Linked DNA regions of Homo sapiens: region 2 is linked to region 1. The links are contacts of gene promoters, found by promoter capture Hi-C in blood cells and fetal thymus (Javierre and others, 2016). All regions are on one chromosome and are shown on one strand. Each heading gives the region's core, a stretch centred on a gene start or on the middle of the fragment in contact. The rest is flanking DNA. Distances are from core to core; before and after follow the strand shown. Region 1 holds the start of TPPP3 (tubulin polymerization promoting protein family member 3). Region 2 overlaps SLC9A5 (solute carrier family 9 member A5).

The links. The method cuts DNA at HindIII sites, captures the fragments that hold promoters and counts their contacts. A CHiCAGO score of 5 or more calls a contact.
Region 2: a fragment that was not itself captured here is called in contact with the fragment with the promoter of TPPP3 in region 1 in 5 of 17 cell types (M2 macrophages, endothelial precursors, megakaryocytes and 2 more); the score reaches 7.0 in M2 macrophages.

Annotation. Positions count from the first base shown.
Region 1 is chr16:67,391,626-67,395,334 of GRCh38, forward strand. It overlaps TPPP3 (tubulin polymerization promoting protein family member 3), which reads right to left and starts at 1,873. Exons shown (of 4, transcript NM_015964.4): 1 at 1,755-1,873. ZDHHC1 (zDHHC palmitoyltransferase 1) reads right to left here. Exons shown (of 12, transcript NM_001323627.2): 10 at 3,562-3,655; 11 at 3,377-3,437; 12 at 2,527-3,268. The coding sequence ends at 2,985. The HindIII fragment of the contact is 5,780 bases long and covers 1-3,709 here.
Region 2 is chr16:67,258,103-67,261,811 of GRCh38, forward strand. SLC9A5 (solute carrier family 9 member A5) reads left to right here. Exons shown (of 16, transcript NM_004594.3): 10 at 216-345; 11 at 1,471-1,559; 12 at 1,718-1,844. Among named protein-coding and RNA genes, the nearest start is that of SLC9A5, 11 kb to the left of the region's middle. The HindIII fragment of the contact is 2,094 bases long and covers 594-2,687 here.

The DNA of each region.
Region 1 (3,709 bases), core at 623-3,122:
TGCATGCCCTGGGCAGGGGTGCAGCTGGTCCAGCAAGGCCTTGTTACTATTTGCTGTTAAACAAAAACATGAGGGGAGCTTGGGGCTGGCCTGGCCACAGTTTGTGAAGCCTGGAGACGGTTGCTAAGGGAGGGTGGTGCTGCTTGGAGAATGTTGCTAAGGGCAGGATGGTGTCAGGGCAGCTCAGGGAGAAGCTCCCAGTGCTGAGGGGCTGGGCTGGGCTGGGAAGCTGGGGCCCACGGGTGGGGCACGCCAGCACTCCCTGCGCCTAGGGCATAACCGTGGCTTCCTGGCCCCTTGCCACCGACTGGTGCTGTAACCTCCCACTGTGGAGTTTTGGGGGAGCAGGAGGTTGGGGGCTAGTAGCGTGGGGGCTGTAGAGTTACGAACCCCAAGAGTCGTGCTGGCAAGTGGGGCTGTGGCTGAAACACACTTCATCATGTCTACACCTCAGACCTCCCCTGGCCACGCCCTGAACTTGGCCACACCAGCCCACATTCCCAGCGACCCTGTGCACTCAGCCCTGGCCTGCCACCCCCTGGGCCTTGTACCCCTGGCCATACCTTCAGCCCTCCATCCTCCATCTTCACACCCACAGCCACAGCCCTCGGCCACCAGCCCCCACATATATACTAACAAGCCTGCGCCAACCCCAGTAATACCCACAGTCCAGCACTAAAGTGCCCCCCACACCCACAGCCCTCCGCTGCAGACCCCTGGCCACACCCTGAGCCTACACAGCAGCCTTCTCCATCCCCACACCCGCAGCCCTGGGGCTGAGGCCCCTGGCCACAAACCTGCATCCCTTCCTGAGACCCCTGACCATAGCCTCAGCCACTCACCCCCTCCAATACCCGCAGCCCTTTATCAAGGCGCCCTGACCCTCAGCACCCCTTTGTCCACACACCCTCAGCCCTCTGGCCACACCCTCAGCCTGCACTGAAGGCCCCAGTCCACATCCACACACTAACATTATAAGACTCCCAGGTACTATGCGGAGATCCCCTGCGTAGAGACCTCCCCACCACATCCCCCTCCTCCACTGCCACCTCCTGACCACACCCTCGGTCTCAGCAACCATCTTCTAGCTCTGCCTTTTACACTAGGGCTTCCAGTGACCACGGCCTGGGCTCTGCCCGGCTGCCCCATCTTCCACCAAAAACTCCTCGCCAGTGACCACACTCCCATCCCTAAGTGGCAGTTTCTGGGACTGTGAGCACCGGTGGTTCCTACGTTACAGGGACCATAACCCCAGTCCACGCTGCACTCCCCTTCCCTTTCCCTGGGTGCAACCTCCCACCAGGGACCCCAAGACCCGCACTTGGTTCACCAAGGGTAACGTCCAGGGGAGCTTGGATGCCACAGGGTGCTTGGCCCAAGCACTGGGCGGATCCTGCGTGCAGTGCTCACTCCTGTCCGTGGAAAGATGGATTCTTGGTCATCTCAGCGCGGTCAGGTGGCGCTGGGTTGCAGGCCGCAGCCCCATGGGTCTGCAGGCCATGGATGGAGTGGCCACACCCGTGAACTGGAGCCACCCGTCCCGCTCCCACTGGGACAGCTGGAGTCATCAATCAGCCGGACCAGGAGGTGGGGGCTGCGAGGTGGAATGCTTGGGGCCAGGGCAGGGCCGCTCAGCTGGCTCCTCGGCTGGGACCGCCGGAGGTTGGGACCCTTTCCAGGCTGCTCCCCCCAACCCTCATCGTGCAGGATACTGATTGGGGTGGCGGGCATCTGGGTCTCCTATGGGCTTCTACCTCGCGGCTGCTCCTGAAGTGTGCGTTCGGAAGGACAGAACGACGCAGGAATGGACCGATGGACGCGGGAGACCAGGCGGCTCCGCAGCTCCGCTCCCTGCCGGCTCCCGGGTGGGACTGCAGCCCAGGCGGCTCCGCCGTATTATCCCCTGTTTCTCGGTCTCCATAGAGACGGCGAGTCCCACCCCCGAGGCTGTCTCGGCGGGAGAGTGACCAAGGTCACGCCGGCCCCGCCCACGAGGCCCCGCCCTCCCCGAGACTCTCCGGGAGCCGCATCCCGCCCCTCCCCCGCAACTCCGCGGTCCTCGCGACGGCGAGACCAGCGCTCTGCAGTTCGGGGCGTCTTCGGACGGCCCCCTGAGGAAACAGCCTCCCATCCTGGGATGTGCCTAAAGCTCTAAGCGGCCCCAATCTCCAGAAGAGATCCAGCTCCCCAGAGAGTCAACCAGAGGCCACTGGGGAGCTGCGCGGGGCATTGGTGGGGCTTGGGGAATCGGGAAGGAGCTCTCCCTCAGTGACAGGGGTATACGGTTGACTCAAGAGCACTGCCATCCACTGAACGGATGGCACCCCCAGGCCACAACTCCCGTGCTCTCTTGGGTAGGATTCAGAGCCTGGAGCAGTGGGGAAGAAGGGAGGGGACTCCCTACGAGCGAATCGCGCTCGCCCAGCCCCAGGATGCTGGCATTCGACGGCAGCCCTGCTGCCGGGGAAAAGCTGCGGGACCTCCTGGCTCGGCCCCCTCCTTTCGCCGCCACCTCCCCACGGCCTCGCAGCCTCAGCGCCCACTGCTGCTTTCGGAGCCCAAAGCCTGCTTTCTCTCGGCCTCCCAGTGCAAAGCCCATCTTTAAGAAAAATAACCTCCTCCAGGCCGCCTTCTAAGGCCTTTCCTAACCACGAGCCGCACGTGAGCACCTCCACAGGGCAGCCTGGGTGGCTACCTACTATACAGGGACCTCCTCCCCGCCCCCGGTCCACTGGCCAGGGTCGGGCTTCTGGATGGCCCGTGGCCCCTGCCATTAAGAAAGTAAGCGCGACGTCCGCAAAAGCATAAAAAAGTTTATTGGAGCATCACAGCCGGTGGGGCGGGTATTGCTGAGTCGTGGGGGAGGGAGGCCGATCCCGCCGGCCGTAGGGGCCCCTAAAGTGCACTCGGTGCGGCAAGGATGGGGTGTTGCATAGAGAGTCAGGCCGGCCGCTCTAACTCGGCCCTCCGGCCTCTCGGCCCAGCTAAGCCAGACCAGCCTCCCGGCCGCCCGGCGCCCTGGGCTCGCCGCTGCTCGGGCTCACGAAAACGGCGGGCGCACGCGCCTGCCGCGCCAGCGTGGGCTGTCGGCCCCGGCCCCGCGGGGCGGCCAGAGCGGCGCTGCCCAGGCGCGTCTGCGCCACTGGAATCTCGTCCACGGACTCTGCCGACGCCGAGTGGTAGGCGCCGGCAGGGCCAGCGGCGTGCACAGGGCTGGCGTCCGCGGAATCCGTCGACGAGCTGGAGCGGCGGCTGGGGGCCCTAGGCCCTGCGCAAGGGAAGGGAACATGAGCCCAGTGGCTGCGGCTCGCTTGTGGCTCTGCCTTCCCCTCCCTCGAGTTCCCAGAGCAGGACCCGGACAGGGAGAGGCGCTCACCCGACGCCGGATCCGAGGTCTCAGACGTTCGCACTTTATACACGCGCCTCTTCCTCTTTTTCTGCAGAGACACGGGGGAGCCTGAGGGCCCCACATCGCCAAAAGAAGCAGAGGCGAGCGCCAGGGTAGAGGCTTCTTTCTATCCCACTCCACCTGGACCGGAGGCCCAGCACAGTCCCTCCTACCTGGGGTCGGATCCGGGGAGGCAGGGCGAGAGTGTCTGGGGAAGAGGGTGGTGGAGGTTCCGCTTGGCCACGGGTGGCAAGAAACTGGGAGGGACTGAGGGGGAAGCAGGAGGGTAAGCCTGGGGCCTGTTCCCCAAATCCCTCCCCA
Region 2 (3,709 bases), core at 391-2,890, 130 kb before region 1:
TTACAGTGATTTGTAATAATTTCAGTTACTGTCAGCCTTTCCCATGACATTGTAAATTCCATGAGGGCAGGGACTAGCCTTGAGATTCTCTCTGGCTGAGGCCCATATCTAAAAAGCCAGGCCAGTGCTGACGGTGTCCTTGCCCCGTCTGAGGAAGGGCCACCTGGCCAGGCCTTGGGAATGGGACTCAGGGCCGGGCCTGGCATCCTCTGTAGGTGGGAGCAGTTTGACAAGAAATACCTGAGTCAGCTGCTGATGCGACGATCAGCCTACCGCATCCGGGACCAGATCTGGGATGTGTACTACAGGCTTAACATCCGGGATGCCATCAGCTTTGTGGACCAGGTGGGCCAGCAGCTTCCAGGTGGGCCAGTGGTGGGTGGGCAGATGGTCAGCAGAGCAGGACAGAAAGGGGTGGCAAGCAGGCTGGCCCTGAGCAGGGAGTTGGGAATTCCTAGCTGGCTCCATGGTCTGGTGAAGTGGCAGCGGCAGGAAGCAGCTGGGTCTGGTGCTGACATTCAGAGTCTGGCAGGCAGTCCAGAGAGGTGGGAAACAGCTGGACTCTGGGGTCAGCTCAACCATTATCACTTCCAAGCTTGTGACCTTGGGTAAGCACACTCTCTGAGCCTGTTTCCTTAGCTGTAAGAAAGCAGGCATAAGAGGCTGGGCACGGTGGCTCACGCCTGTAATCCCAGCACTGTGGGAGCCTGAGGTGGGTAGATCACTTGAGGTGAGGAGTTTGAGACCAGCCTGGCCAACATGGTGAAACCCTGTCTCTACTAAAAATACAAAAACTAGCCAGGCATGGTGGTGCATGCCTGTAATCCCAACTACTCTGGAGGCTGAGGCAGGAGAATCGCTAAAATCTGGGAAGCGGGCTGGGCACGGTGGCTCACACCTGTAATCCCAGCACTTTGGGGGGCCAAGGCGGGTGGATCATGAGGTCAGGAGTTCGAAACCGGCCTGGCCAACATAGTGAAACCCCGTCTCTACTAAAAATACAAAAACTAGCCAGGCGTGGTGGTGGGCACCTGTAGACCCAGCTACTTGGGAGGCTGCGGCAGGAGAATCGCTTGAACCCTGGTGGAGTTTGCAGTGAGGTTGCAGTGAGCTGAGATTGTACCATTGCACTCCAGCCTATGTGACAGAGCAAGACTGTGTCTCAAAAAAAAAAAAAAAAAAATCCGGGAACCAGAGGTTGCAATGAGCCGAGATCGTGTCACTGCACTCCAGCTTGGGTGATAGAGTGACTCTGTCTCAAAAAAAAAAAAAAAAAAAAAAAATAGAAAGCAGGCATACAAGTACCTATGTTATAGATTTTGTGAATTCGATATGTAAAGTGCCTAGCAGAGTACCTGGCATGTCAAAAGAGTAAACTAAGTGTTCGTTATTATTATTTTCTTTATTACCCCTGACTCCTGGGCAACCCTCCATCTGATTGCTGGCTGACCTTGGTCTTGACACCTGCAGGGAGGCCACGTCTTGTCTTCCACAGGTCTCACTCTGCCTTCTATGCCCAGCCGCAATTCTGTGGCAGAAACTTCTGTCACCAACCTGCTGTGAGTCCTTGAGCCCCTTCCCCTTCCTCATACTCCTCTCCATTGTGCCCTCTCTCTGAGTCCCTTCTGGGGGAGATTTGTCAGCACCTTTTCATCTGCCCTTCTCCTGGACTGCCTCCTGCCCCCTCTCCAGCACATGTGTCCCCTGCCTCCTGCAGGAGGGAGAGTGGCAGTGGAGCGTGTCTGGATCTGCAGGTGATTGACACAGTACGCAGCGGCCGGGATCGTGAGGATGCTGTGATGCATCATCTGCTCTGCGGAGGCCTCTACAAGCCGCGCCGTAGGGTGAGAGCAGGCAGGCATCAGGATTTTGAGGGGGTGGAGGTGGTCTGAGGAGAGCTTAAGAGGCAGTTGGCGCCAGCTTGTTGGAGAGCTGCAGATGCCCAGCTAAAGAGTGTGGGTTTCAGCCGGGTGCGATGGCTCATGCCTGTAATCTCAGCACTTTGGGAGGCCAAGACAGGCGGATCACTTGAGGTCAGGAGTTTGAGACCAGCCTGGCCAACATGGTAAAAATGAAACCCCATCTCTACTAAAAATACAAAAATTAGCTGGGTGCGGTGGCACATGCCTGTAATCCCAGCTACTCGGGAGGCTGAAGCAGGAAAATCGCTTGAACCCGGGAGGCAGAGGTTGCAATGAGCTGAGGTCTCACCACTGCACTCCAGCCTGGGTAACAGAGCAAGACTCCATCTCAAAAAAAAAAAAAAAAAAAAAAAGAGTGTGGGTTTTATCTCATCAGTAATAAGAAACCTCTGCTTTGTTTTTATTTTTTGGAGAAAGGGTTGACCTAATACAAGCACTGTTTAAGGATACCTTCTCTGGTAGCAGAGTGCAGATCAAATTGGAGGGGGTGAGTTGAGAAGCTGGGACAGCCAGTTGGGAAGATGGAGTGAAATATTGTGGATTAGGGCTGAGCGGTGGGAAAGAAGAGGGGCACGTAGGCCTAGGTGATTGGCTCTGATGGTGAGAGGAGGAGGAGACAGAGTACTGGGGGCCTTGAGGGTCACTGGAGAATGATGGAGTCACAGACAGAAGCAAGAGCACTGAGGAAGCCTCCTAGACCAGCTTAGCCTGTGGAAGGTGGGCATCTGTTTTAAATAATGGAAGTTAGTCCAATGCAGATCATGAAGCTTTGCGTCTGGAAAGGCCCAGCTCATCCAGGAGAGAGTCTGTTGCAACCCCACAAGAGGGCAGCAAGCCATTACCTTGCACCTTTCTAAAATGGGAAGCCAGCTGTCACCAGTTCTGGCAGTTTCAACAGTCAAAGCTCTTTCTACTGTTGAAACAGAATTGGCCTCCTTTAACTTGCACCCACTGGTCCTGATTTGACTCTTCGCAGCTCTGCAGAATACATCTTCCAAAATTTCAAGACAGTTCCCTTTCACACAGGCTCTCTTGCCCTCAGGCCAGAATCTCTTACCTCCTGGTATGTCTTCTCTGGACTTAAAAAAACAGCGCCCAGAATGGAAGTTGCTACTCTAGCTGTGGCTGGCCAGGGAAGGGCCTAGAAGCTCTGACACCATTCTAGTTCTAGAACTTGCTATTTCTCTTCCCACAGCCCAAGATCCCTCCAGCCTTGGCTCACCACCCTGGGGCCCCACATTGTCCTTAGAATCTGCTAAACTCCCAGGTCTTCCTCAGTTAATGGCTGGCAGACCCTGTCTCACTGCATCCTATGGGGTTTTTAAAAAACCTTTCTTATTCAAAATTCCAGTAGAACGAATAAAATAACTCATATTTATCTATCAACCAGCACTGAAAAATCAGTGCATGATCAATTCTATTACATTCTGCAGCCCTACCACATCCCTCCCACACTTTATCTTAAAACAAACTCCAGACATCGTATCACATCATCTCAAAATATTTCAGTATGTCTCTCTAGGTGGCAAGAACTCTTACATCCAGTCAGTATTCAATAAATATCTTTTCCCCGCTGGATGTTCAAATCAGGGTCTAAATAAGTCCACACTTAGCATTTGGGAAATATGTCTCTTCATTTAAAAAAATCTATAATAGTTCTTTTTCCCCTCTCTATCTCCCTTGCTATTTATTTATTGAAGAAGCTGGATACTTTCTCTTGGAGAATTGCACATTTTCTAGATTTTGCTGACTGTATTCCAGTGGTGTTGTTTAACATGTTCCTCCGT